Regions from separate parts of the Homo sapiens genome. Here regions 1 and 2 are each linked to region 3. The links are contacts of gene promoters, found by promoter capture Hi-C in blood cells and fetal thymus (Javierre and others, 2016). All regions are on one chromosome and are shown on one strand. Each heading gives the region's core, a stretch centred on a gene start or on the middle of the fragment in contact. The rest is flanking DNA. Distances are from core to core; before and after follow the strand shown. Region 1 overlaps HSF5 (heat shock transcription factor 5). Region 2 overlaps HSF5 (heat shock transcription factor 5). Region 3 holds the start of MPO (myeloperoxidase).

Region 1 (3,954 bases), core at 139-2,638, 180 kb after region 3:
GAAGAAAGTAGAATAGTAAATACCAGAGGCTGGGGAAAGTAGGAAAGTGGGGATATTGGGAGAAGTTGGTCAAAAGTTGTAGTTAGATAGGAAGAATAAGCTTTGGTATTCTATTACACAGTAGCATAATTGTAGCAAATAACAATGTAGTGTATATTTCAAGACAGCTAGAAGAAAAGGTTTAGAGTGTTATCACCACAAAGAAATGATAAATGTTTAGAGTGATGGATATGGTAATTATCTCAATTTGATCATTACACTACATATACATGTGTCAAAAAATCACATTGTACCTCATAAATATGTACAATTATATTTAAATTATAAATTAAAAATAAAAATGGTTAAAATGATAAATTTTATGTTACATGTTCTTCAACACAATAAAAAATTAAAAGGAAAGAATATGTGCTCTACAGGCAGACAACTTAGGGTAGGATATTAGCAATATTAGTTTATATGTGACTGGCCATGCATGGTGGCTCATGCTCATAATCCCAGCACTTTGAGAGGTCAAGGCAGGAGGACTGCTTGAGCCTAGGAGTGCAAGACCAGCCTGGGCAACATAGTGAGACCCCATCTCTATAAAAAATGAAAAAAGGCAGCTGGGTGCAGTGGCTCATGCCTGCAATCCCAGCACTGTGGGAGGCCGAGGCAGGCAGATCACCTGAGGTCAGGAGTTCAAGACCAGCCTGGCCAACATGGCGGAAACCTTGCCTCTGCTAAAAATACAAAAATTAGCTAGTCGTGGTGGAGTGTGCCTGTAATCCCAGCTACTCAGGAGGCTGAGGCAGGAGAATCACTTAAACCTGGGAGGTGGAAGTTGCAGTGAGCCAAGATCACGCCATTGCACTACAGCCCGGGCAACAGAGCAAGACTCTGTCTCAGAAAAAAAAAATAATAATAATAATAAAGAAAAGGAAAAGGAAAGAAAAGAAAAAAGGGCCAGGCATGGTGGCTCATGCCTGTAATCCCAGCACTTTAGGAGGCCGAGGTGGGTGGATCACTTGAGGCCAGGAGTTCAAGACCAGCCTGGCCAACATGGTGAAACCCCATCTCTACTAAAAATACAAAAATTAGCCGGGTGTGGTGCCACGCACCTGTAGTCCCAGCTACTCGGGAGGCTGAGCCATGAGAATTGCTGGAATCTATGAGGTGGAGGCTGCAGTGAGCCAAGATGCGCCACTGCATTCTAGCCCGGGCAACAGAGAAAGACTCTGTCTCTAAAAAATGAAAAAATAAAACAAATTTATATGTGACTTTGAACAAGTTACTTACTCTAAGCCTAAATTTCCTGATGTTTAAAATGACAATGCCACTTCCAACAGATTTGTCCTATGGCACAAAAATGGATACGGTAAATGTTAGTTCCTGCCTTTCTCTCATCTAAATTGCCTTCAAGGCTCATGCCATTGTGTTAAACACCTTCAGTGGTAAGAAATCTTTAGTCTTTAATTATGGATTGGAAAATATAATCAACTAAAAGTGTGCAAGCTAAATTTAGTGAATAAATGATAGACAGTTTTTAGCCTAAAAGACATTTTGCAGAAAGAACCCTATGAGTCTGAGCTACACCATGATCATATCACTATTAATTTACTTTTTGGAAAAATTCTCACAGAAGTTCTCAACATTTTTCAAATTATTGTAGGTTAAAATGATGGTCTGTCATTTTAACCTACACTGTCATTCTGCCTGCACTGCATGCCCCTGACATGAACATAATTCTAGAATATTAAAATTGTCCACTGCAGACTTTGGTAACTTGATTTTTGGATGATATGAGACACATGTTTTATTAGATGTTACTATTTCTTCAAAAAATATGATTTTGTCTTATTAGAATCAACTGTATGTGCCTAAAACAATCACTTATTCTGGGTTCTTACAAACCACAAGAATAACAAACCATTCATTGGTATAGGGTCATACTTTATAGTATCTTTAAAATGCGCTCAGGATAATATCCTAAATTTCCATCTGATTTTCTCTTGTCACAATATAAATGCATGCCCTCTTGTCCTAGAGTCTGTTAATAACAGAGTAAGTACAACTACAATTTCGAAGTCTGGCATCTGAGGATACTTATTAAATCATCCTTCATCCTTGCCTTCTCCAAGTTAAATAATCTAAATTCCTTTGCTTATTCTTAATATGTTCTATATTTTCAAAGCCCAAATCATTATATGCAATATTAAGAAAATAACTATTACATACTTCACAACAATAATTAAGAACAAATATAGAGTTAAAATTACAGCTATGTAAAAACAGCAATGTGACAGGTCTAATACAATTATGAATAATAAATGGAGACCCAGAAAAAATGTCATTCATATATTAATTCTACAGCGTGATTCTACTTCTGGCATTCTAGAGCACAATAATCCTTACCAGGGGACTTTCCTTGTTGTGAGTTGCTTCTGTGCTCTCTGTATCTGGCTGGAGTGGCTAAACCTGTGTCTTCACTAGGCTTGCTAGCAGGCCCCATTTCTGAAATGAGGAATCCCATCTGTTCTGACGGCAAGATATTCTCACGTGAACTGGTCTGGCATTTTATGTTGGCATCCACCTAAAATATTAAACCCATTCATTATTTGAGATTTCCTCCAAATATCTGCTAAAAGTTAAGATATTTTATCAGAGGAGTTCTATTATGGGAACATGATCCAACAAACAAGCTTATAAGGCTTTTCATTCTTATTATTGATACTATACCTTTCTCCCTACACAAACTATTAAAATGTATATGGAGCTAAAACATTTACTTATGATCAGAGGAATATCTACCATGAAGCTTGTTGATTTTTTTTTAACTTACAAAAGTACAGGTTTTTTTTTTTGTTTTAAGGCAGGGTCTCACATTGTTGTCCAGGCGGGAGTACAGTGGTACAATCATAGCTCACTGTAACCTCGAGCTCATGGGCTCAAGTGATCCTCCTGAGCAGCTAGGACTACAGGTATTAGCTAATTTTTAAAAAGTTTTTTTGTAGGCCGGGCGCGGTAGCTCACAGCTGTAATCCCAGCACTTTGGGAGGCCAAGGTGGGCAGATCATGAGGTCAGGAGTTCTCGACCAGCCTGGCCAGCATGGTGAAACCCTGTCTCTACCAAAAATACAAAAAATTAGCCGGGCGTGGTAGCAGGTGCCTGTAATCCCAGCTATTCGGGAGGCTGAGGCAGGAGAATCGCTTGAACCCAGGAGATGGAGGTTGCAGTGAGCCGAGATTGTACCACTGCACTCCAGCCTGGGCAACAGAGTGAGACTACATCTCAAAAAAAAAAAAAAAAGGTTTTTTTGTAGAGACAGGGTCTCGCTATGTTGCCCAGGCTGGTAACTCCTGGTCTCAGGGGATCTTTCCACCTGGGCCTCCCAAAGCACTGGGTTTACAGACGTGAGCCACCACACCTGACCAAAAGTAAGATAGTTTCACCATGATTGGTTAAAACCATCTTTTTTCTCTGTAGAATATGTTCTATCAGACTTCCTCTCCTGTTGGAATGGCCATAGGCATGATCCTGTTAGATGGTTTCAGTGGGATGTGGATACTTTATTCTACTAATTTTGTATTCTTTCTCTTAAAGAGGCCCTCAAAATTGTATAAGCTTTAGCCCCTATAAAATCTATATCTGCCCTGTTTATAAAATACAAATTTCTTTCTTTCAGACAGGGTCTCATTCTGTTGCCCAGGCTGGAGTGTAGTGGTGTGATCACGGCTCACTACAGCCTTGACCTCCCAGGCTCAAGCTATCCTCCCACCTCAGCCTCCCAAGTACCTAGGACACAGGTGTATGCCACCACACCAAGCTAATTTTTAAAATGTTTTTGTAGGGATAGACTCTCACTATGTTGCCCAGACCAGTCTGGACTTCCTGGGTTCAAGCGATCCTCCCACCTCAGCTTCCAAAGGTGCTAGAATTACAGGCATAAGCTACTATGCCTAGCCTAAGTTTCT
Region 2 (4,165 bases), core at 1,131-3,630, 160 kb after region 3:
TTTGGGAGGCCAAGGTGGGTAGATCACCTGAGGTCAGGAGTTCAAGACCAACCTGGCCAACATGGCAAGACCCCATCTCTACTAAAAATACAAAAATCAGTTGTGTGGTGGCTCATGCCTGTAGTCTCAGCTATTTGGGAGGCTGAAGCACGAGAATCGCTTGAACCCAGGAGGCGGAGGTTGCAGTGAGTCGAGATCACGCCACTGCACTCCAGCCTAGGCAACAGAGTGAGATTCCAGCTCAATAAATAAACAAATAAATAAATAAATAGAGACTAGCCATCTGAAAAGTAACCAGTGGTAATAAACATAAGAACAGTAAATATTGGCTGGGCGCTGTGGCTCATGCCTGTAATCCCAGCACTTTGGGAGGCTGAGGCGAGCAGGAGATCGAGACCATCCTGGCTAACATGGTGAAACCCCATCTCTACTAAATATACAAAAAATTAGCCGGGCATGGTGGCGGGCGCCTGTAGTCCCAGCTACTCGGGAGGCTGAGGCAGGAGAATGGTGTGAACCTGGGAGGTGGAGCTTGTAGTGAGCCAAGATCACGCCACTGCACCGCAGCCTGGGCGACAGAGCGAGACTCCATCTCAAAAAAAAAAAAAAAAAAAAAGTAAATGTTATAAAAATAGCTAAAATTCTATTGCTACTATGTATGGACTACTTACTATGTAACCCAGCATAATACTAAGCCAGTTCTATGATTTATATCATTATAATCCATATTCCTCATTTTGCAGATGAGGACACCAAAGCTCAGTTAGGTAAACACGTCCAAGGTCACACAGTAAAGAGCAGAATCCAGGTTTTAATGCAGGTTTTTCTAACACCAAAAGCTTTCTTTCTAACCATATGCTGTACTGTTTTTAATGAGCAGTATATTAATCTCACACATTGACTTTGGTTAAGGTCTCTTAATGCCATGGGACCTTACATATAGCCATGTTTTCATAGACCAACTGCTAGGCCAAGGTCTATCAGAGCAGAATCATTTGCAACTTCATGAATTGTATTTCTGCCTACACTTTAATTAAAAAACTTTTTTTTTTTTTAGCAGAGAGGTTCTAGCTTAATCATAACTCATTTTCCTCTTGTCCATAATAAAATGAAAATGTGATTAGGTGTCATAATGATGCCAAGATTTCACAACTCTTATGTTTCACAGCAGGAAGCCAACATCAATTAAGACTCATCTATTAACTGCACTGACCAAAGGATAAGGCTTTACTTAGAAAAAAAAAACAACAGGAAGAGTTAATAAAGATAATTACTGTGCTAATTATTTTATCAGTTACACTTATAACCATAACATGTAGTGAAAGAGAGGAAATTATTTTTTTAACAGCAGGCACCAGAGTTCCTCTCAGGGAGGTAATTGTCTTTGTTGAGGAATATGTCTCGATAGATTGTTCTGGTTGGGAAAAATGACGCCTTAAAAACATCAAAAAATAGAAGAGATACCTAACCTTCTTTGCCTAAGTAAAACACAGGAATTCAGCACCTGGGGAAAGAGCAGAAAAAAAAAACCAACCATAACAACAACAACAACAGAAAGCAGAGAAACGAAGGTCTGGTGCTAGTACAAGGAAAGAAAGCAACATGGCAGAGGACCATATTGACTAGTGACAAGGAAAGATGCCGTAAAGTGACTGGGGGCCTTTTAATTCCATTTTTGCGGTATTCTAAATATTTCTGTCGGTATTTCTGCCTCCCGACATCTTCATAAAAGTGTGCTACACATACACATGCCTAGCATAATGCTTAAAGGGAGGAAGAGGTCAAAGAAAGTGGGCCAAGTTCTGCATCTGGTATAGCATGGAACAGACAGATAAGAACAGCCCTGGGAGGTCAGATATGGACAAGTCTGGAATTACATTTAAGCAGAAACTCAAAAATAAAAGCTACTGTGAACCCTAGAAAGTCTCAGAAATCTTAGAAAGGCATTCTTGGTATAGGGTAAGTTTATCTTGAGTCAATCATATCTAAACCTCAAAAGTCAGTTTACTATCTGGGATATAAATATTTTTTAAAAACACTCTGAAATTGTTCATTTCTATTACTTTAAGGCTTTTATATTCCTGCTATAGGAACACTTCAAGTATTTAAACTACTTTTAGTATTTTTAGATTTTTTAAAATTTGAAAAACATAGAAGAATACAGATGGTGAAAATTTCCCGTAATCCTATTATATATACATATACAAATTGAGAAGTTAAGCATACCCCTGCACCCATACATTCTATCTTCTGAGAGATAACTAGTGTTATATTTATCAGCTATATCGTATATCTCCAGACTTTTTTCTATAATTTTACAGCATATACTTTCTTTTCTTTCTTTCTAGAAAGGGGGTTGTGCTAGACATATTGTGTTGCAACTTACCCATTTGCTGAACACATTATGAACACTTACTGTCTTTCCAGGTCACAACACATCAAGCTACTTCAGTTTCTTAAATGGTTGCACAGTATTTTATTATGTAGATGTCATAATGTATCTGGTTCCCCACTGTCAGGCATTTATGCTTTTCTCAAATTTTTGCTATTATAAATAACACTATAGCAAACTTATTTTGAGTACCTTTGGGAATATACACATTTCTACAGGAGAGATTCCCAGGAGTAGAGTTCCTGAGTCAAAACTCATAAGCATTTTAGTTATCTATAAATAATGCCAATTGTCCTTTATAGGGCTATACGAATTTACATTCCAATTACAGCATAGAGAAGGTTCCTTTTCTCTATACCTTTATCAAAGCTGGATATTATCAACAGTTAAAGTTTTGCCAATCAAATTGCCAAAAAAAAAAATAATTGGTTGATTTTGGTCAGTGACAGACCATATAGATGATGATGATTCTGTAAGATTGTACTCTATTTTTACTGTACCATTTCTATGCTTAGCTATGTTTAGATACACAAATACCACTGTATTACAATTGCTTACAATATTCAATACAGTAACATGCTGTAAGGGTTTGTAGCCTAGAAGCAATAGGCTATACTATACAGCCTAGGTATGTAGTAGGCAACATCATCTAGGTTTGTGTAAGTACAATTCACAATGTTTATAAAACAATAACATTAACTAATGACATAGTTCTCAGAATACATTCCTGTCATTAAGGGATACATGATTATATGTGCTACTGGCTTTGCAGTCAGGCAGCACATGGTTAGGACACAGCAAGCTAGAATGTTGGTGATCTTTGTTATCCATGCCAACATATTTGGTAAAATCATTACCTGTGACACCATGGAAGTCAGACCACACATGCCAAGTGAACATACAACCATGGGGGAAAAGATTGACAAAAATCACAAGGTGTTGACTATTTCTTGACACATTCAGCAAAGCCCTAAAAGAAGAGATAAACTCAGGCTAGAGGTACCTAGTGTGCAAGCAGAGATGGAAGGGAATATTTGACTGCCTGTGGTTGACAACTTATTGACTAGAGTTCAGTAACTGGGTCATGAATCCAACTGCTTCAATACCCCAACCTGAAGTTGCACTAAGAAGTGCCTTAAGGCCAGGCATGGTGGCTGACACCTGTAATCCCAGCACTTTGGGAGGCTAAGTTGGGAGGATTGCTTGAGACCAGGAGTTGGAGATCAGCCTGGGCAACACAGTGAGACTCCATCTCTTTGAAAAGTAAAAAAAAATCAGCTAGGTGTGGTGGCATGTGCCTGTAGTCCCAGCTACTTCTTTGGGGGGTTGGGGGTAGGTTGGTTGAGGTGGGAGGATCACTTTAGCCCAGAGATCAAGGCTGCAGTGAGCTATGATCGTGCCAGACTAGGCAACAGAGTGAGACCCTGCCTCAAAAAAAAAATAATAATAAATAAAAAAAATTGGTGGTACATGCTGATTAACATTAAGCTAAGCCCAACAGTTGACAAATCTTGTCAACAGAGCTTCTGTAAGCTTTTTAATGCTCCATTCTTGAATAGGGAAGAAAGCCAATGGAAAAAAAAAACAAAAACAACAACAACCAAAAAAAAAAACCAGAAAGAACGTAGAGGAAACTGACATATGTTGTGGGGAAACAACTTCAAAACCAGCCCTTCCATTTAGTATCCTCAGAGAGCTATAAGAAGATATTATATCCATATAAAAGAACAGCAAGTTCCCCCAAAAAGGAACAATTATAGAATAGAATAAAAA
Region 3 (4,218 bases), core at 124-2,623:
TGCTCCGGGCAAGTCACCCCCACGTCCTGGTAGGCGCAGCCGCTTGACTTGGACAACACATTCAGCTGGGCGGGCGTCAGCACATCTGCCGGGGGAAAGAACAATGGGGGAGCTGAGCCGCCTCACTTCCTATCCCAGGCAACCTGAGGCTGAGGAGCCCTGGAGACTCCTGAGACTCCCTGGAGGAAGAAGTTGAGGGGATCACTGAGAGACGGCTGGGGTCCCTAGGAGGAGTCACTAGTGGAGCAGGGACCTGGGGTGTGATGGGCAACAGTACCAGTGACATTGAATGGCCTTCGCCACAGGGACCGCAGCTTCCTCTCCAGCAGGTCTAGAGCCACGTGCAGGTAGTCAGCGGCCCTCACCGCCGTCCTGGTGGCTGCCACCGGCTGCTTGAAGTAGGATAGGAGTTCCATGGGGCTGGCTGAGCCGCTGCGAAGCCGCTGCTTGATGCTGCTTGGAGAAAGGAGGAGTGAGGGCCAGAGAAGGGATACAGACCCACCCAGCAGAGCCCCAGCCCAGGGGCAGACATGCAGGACCATGCAGGCAGGCCCACGGGTGGGAGGAAGGCTTCCTTTTATAAAAAGGATATGGACCTGGGTGTCCAGACAGAGGCAAGGCTTTGGGAAGGATGGCTTTTAAGCTGTTCTCCCATCCAGAAACACAGGGACAGACAGACAGAAAGGGAGTCCACATGGGTCCCCATAGTCCCCCTCTCCCACCTTCAAGCTCCCTGCTGCCTGCTGCTTCTCTGAAAGGCCTGGGACATCCTTGCCCAGAGCTGGGCAGTGCCTCGTGCCCCACCTTTCCCGCCGCTCCTTGTAGGCCTTGTCCACCAGCTGCTTGGCCTCCTCCATGGAGCTCAGCACCAACGAGGTGTCCACCTCCCCCAGGACAGCTGCCCAGAGCAGGGATCACAAAGTCAGGAATGGGCCCCAACCCCCTATCAGGCCCCAGAGCTAGGAAGGCCTGCTCTGAGAAAAGGGGTCTCTGGAACACAACCACCCCAACACACCATCTTCTCCCACCTTGGGAACTGTTACCTGGAGCAGCACCTTCAGAGGGCTGGGGCGTGGCCAGAATGGCCAGGAGCCCTGCTAGGGCCAGAAGCAGCTTCATCTCTGCAGTGAGACCCCCAGCCCAGCAAGGTCCTAAGTCCACCATGCATCTGAGAGAAGAGAAGAAGGGAACCCCCATCTCTCTTCTCCTGGGCTGCTCAATCCCCCTTTGTACCTCAGCCCCACCTCAGAGGGCCCTGTCTATGGATAAAGCCAGACCTCCTTGAGGGAGGGGCTCACTGCTCTCTTATCCCCTTGCCAGCTGCTGTCATCCAGCTTCCAAGGACCCCACCTCCACAGCTCACCTGATATTGTCAGCTCCTCTTAGCTCAATCTGCGCTTTTATGTCCTCTAAGCTGGGGGTGGGGTGAGGTAGAGGAAGGTCTGATCCTGGAGACTGAACTCTTTCTCCTCCCCCACTGGGGTTGGAAGGTACACACAGAGGGGCCCCTGAAATGGGGGGAAGGGGCAGGAAAGGAGGGGCCAGCATTGTCCCCAGCCTTTTTTTTTTTTTTTTTTGAGACGTTATCTTGCTCTGTTGCCCAGGCTGATGTGCAATGGTTCAAGCGATTCTTCTGCCTCAGCCTCCCGAGTAGCTGGGATTACAGGTGCCCGCCACCACGCCCTAGCCTCTAGCCACATCATCAATTATTTCCTTAGGCAAGAAGTAATTTTTGTATTTTTCCTTAGGCAAGAAGCTAATTTTTGTATTTTTAGTAGATACAGGGTTTCACCATGTTGGCCAGGCTGGTCTTGAACTCCTGACCTCAAGTGATCCACCCGCCTCAGCCTCCCAAAGTGCTGGGATTACAGGCATGAGCCACTGGCCCCAGCCTGTCCCCAGCCTTTGAATTTAGCACTACCAGCCCAAGATTTCTCAGCTCACCATTGTGTGCCTATACCAGTGCTTGTCCCCAGGGGATACACACAACTAACCCCTCTGAAATTCTGGTTACACTGGTTATCCAGGGTTCCTTTGAAAGGAACAAAAGTCAGGAACTGGTAGCCCAAGGAATTGCAGGGAATAGAGTGCCCCCAGGGAAGACAGGAGGATGAAAGGGAGACCTGGAGTAAAGATGACCCAATTGGCCTCAGGTGGCCATCCCCCACTCCAACAGTAACCTGCATCCAACAGCCACCCAATGGGCAGCCTCTGGTTCTTGGTGGGGCTAAGGGGACAGGAAATCTGGCTGGAGACCGTTGGGCTTCACAGGAAGGAGGACCCTGGGGACTGTGGGCGCAGGACCAAGATAACTTCCTCTATCCCTCCTCACTCCCCTTTCTTCTTGGCTTCTGGTAGAGGGCTGTCTCCAAACTCCTCCTCCCCACCACCATCTGCTCCTGGATTTCAGGAACCAGGAGAGAGCAGAACTGGTTGTGGTTAGTGATCAGTTAGGTGATGCAGCCCAGGGCCTCTCTGGGACAGGATCAGTGCAGTTGGGAGGACTTGGGTTAATGATTCAGAATAATTCTGAAACAGAAGAGGATATTTCTTGCTTGAGAAAGCCCAGCAAAAGGGCCACCAATCTCAGCAGGAAAAGTACTACGACTTTTGACTGAATCAGTCTACCTCTCTGGGCCCTGGTCAGGCTGAGCTCGTGCCAACCATGCCTCCCATGTCCCATTTAGGTTCCCCCTCCTACCTTCAGCCACCTTCCCGCCACCCACTCTTTTTTTTTTTTTTTTTTTTTGAGACAGGGTCTCTCACTGTTGGCGGAGCTGGAGTACAGTGGTGCAATCTCGGCTCACTGCAACCTCTGCCTCCTGGGTTCAAGCAATTCTCCTGCCTCAGCCTCCCAAGTAGCTGGGATTACAGGCGCCCGCCACCATGCCCGGCTAATATTTTGTATTTTTAGTAGAGATGGGGTTTCAACATGTTGGCCAGGCTGGTCTCAAACTCCTGACCTCCTCCTGATCCACCCACTGTTGGGATTACAGGCGTGAGCCACCGCGCCCGGCCCACTCTTGTCTTCTATGCCCAGACCACCTCTTGGCCAAGGGACAAGGGACAGCAACACCCAGAATATCTTCCCAGTGTGTCCAGGGATTCTGTCCCCTGCTGAGAAGGGGAACCAAGCTTTTGCCCTGCCAGTGACTTGCTGTGTGTGAAGTTGGTCGAGTGGCTCTTTGTGAATCAAGCTCTAGAATTTTAGAGGCTTTTGGAAATGATTTTTCAATCCTTTAAGTAATATAATTTTCACTGATGAAAAGTTTGAGAACACGAGTATGCAAAAATAAAAATAAATCAAAATTACTCATCATCAAGTGAGATTGTGGGTACTTTTTTCTTTCAAGGTTTATCATTGTCTTCACATAAATAAACAATAGGAAGGAAAATAATTGCCCATAATCCCACCACTCACCAATACCTCATTTAAGAATTTGATATCCTATATGTAAACATAATATATATTTTTAAATATTGATAAGAAGAACTTTAAATATTGTTTTACCATCTACTTTCGGTACTTAACAATTTTAGTCTGAGCATCTCCCTGTGTCAATAAATACAGGTTTACTTCATTTTTATGTCTGTATAATATTTCATATAACTATTTTATATGATTTATTAACTAATTCTATCTCATTAGATACTTAGAGTTGTTTCTGATTTTCATTATTATAAGTAGTACTAGGATAAGCATCCATGGAGTTAAATCTCTCGCCACATCGTCAATTATTTCCTTAGGCAAGAAGTAAAATTCCTGCGTATTTGGGTATGCGTGTTTTAGGGCTTTTTAATATTGATAGTCAAATGGCCTGCTGAAGATTTTACCTCATCCTCCCATCAGCCATGCATGAGAGCACCTGTCCCCTGTCACCCTTGTCAACCTTGAGTATGCTTGAGTGTCCTTTCGCTCTTTTAAGGGAATTGTCAAGGCTCAACAGGGGAGAGATATTTAATGCAAGCCCCTTATTGTAGAGCTGAGAAAGAAGGAGCCCAGGGAAGGAAACGACTTGACCAAGGTCAGCAGTGTGACACAGTTCAGAATAATCTCCATGCCCAGTCTCCTGACTTCCAAACCAGTGCTCTTTACCCAGTAGCCTCTGGACACCTGTTCCTGACCTTTCATTCAATGATTTCTTCAACAAGTATTTACTGAGCCCTTGTCATTCAATGATTCCTTCAACAAGTATTTACTGAGCCCTTGTCAGGTGC

The links. Contacts are between HindIII fragments. The CHiCAGO score rates a contact against its expected background, and 5 or more counts as called.
Region 1: a fragment that was not itself captured here is called in contact with the fragment with the promoter of MPO in region 3 in 1 of 17 cell types (M2 macrophages); the score reaches 5.1 in M2 macrophages.
Region 2: a contact is called between a fragment that was not itself captured here and the fragment with the promoter of MPO in region 3, in 1 of 17 cell types (M1 macrophages). The highest score is 5.6, in M1 macrophages.

The regions. Positions count from the first base shown.
Region 1 is chr17:58,456,374-58,460,327 of GRCh38, forward strand. It overlaps HSF5 (heat shock transcription factor 5), which reads right to left. Exons shown (of 6, transcript NM_001080439.3): 5 at 2,395-2,572. Among named protein-coding and RNA genes, the nearest start is that of HSF5, 30 kb to the right of the region's middle. The HindIII fragment of the contact is 2,581 bases long and covers 99-2,679 here.
Region 2 is chr17:58,435,304-58,439,468 of GRCh38, forward strand. All of the region lies in intron 5 of HSF5 (heat shock transcription factor 5), which reads right to left. Among named protein-coding and RNA genes, the nearest start is that of RNF43, 20 kb to the left of the region's middle. The HindIII fragment of the contact is 3,086 bases long and covers 838-3,923 here.
Region 3 is chr17:58,279,562-58,283,779 of GRCh38, forward strand. It overlaps MPO (myeloperoxidase), which reads right to left and starts at 1,374. Exons shown (of 12, transcript NM_000250.2): 1 at 1,044-1,374; 2 at 805-898; 3 at 278-453; 4 at 1-85. The coding sequence starts at 1,197. RefSeq lists promoters at 1,364-1,958, 1,364-1,504, 1,897-2,298, 2,183-2,408, 2,454-2,654 and an enhancer at 2,307-2,324. The HindIII fragment of the contact is 16,452 bases long and covers 1-3,133 here.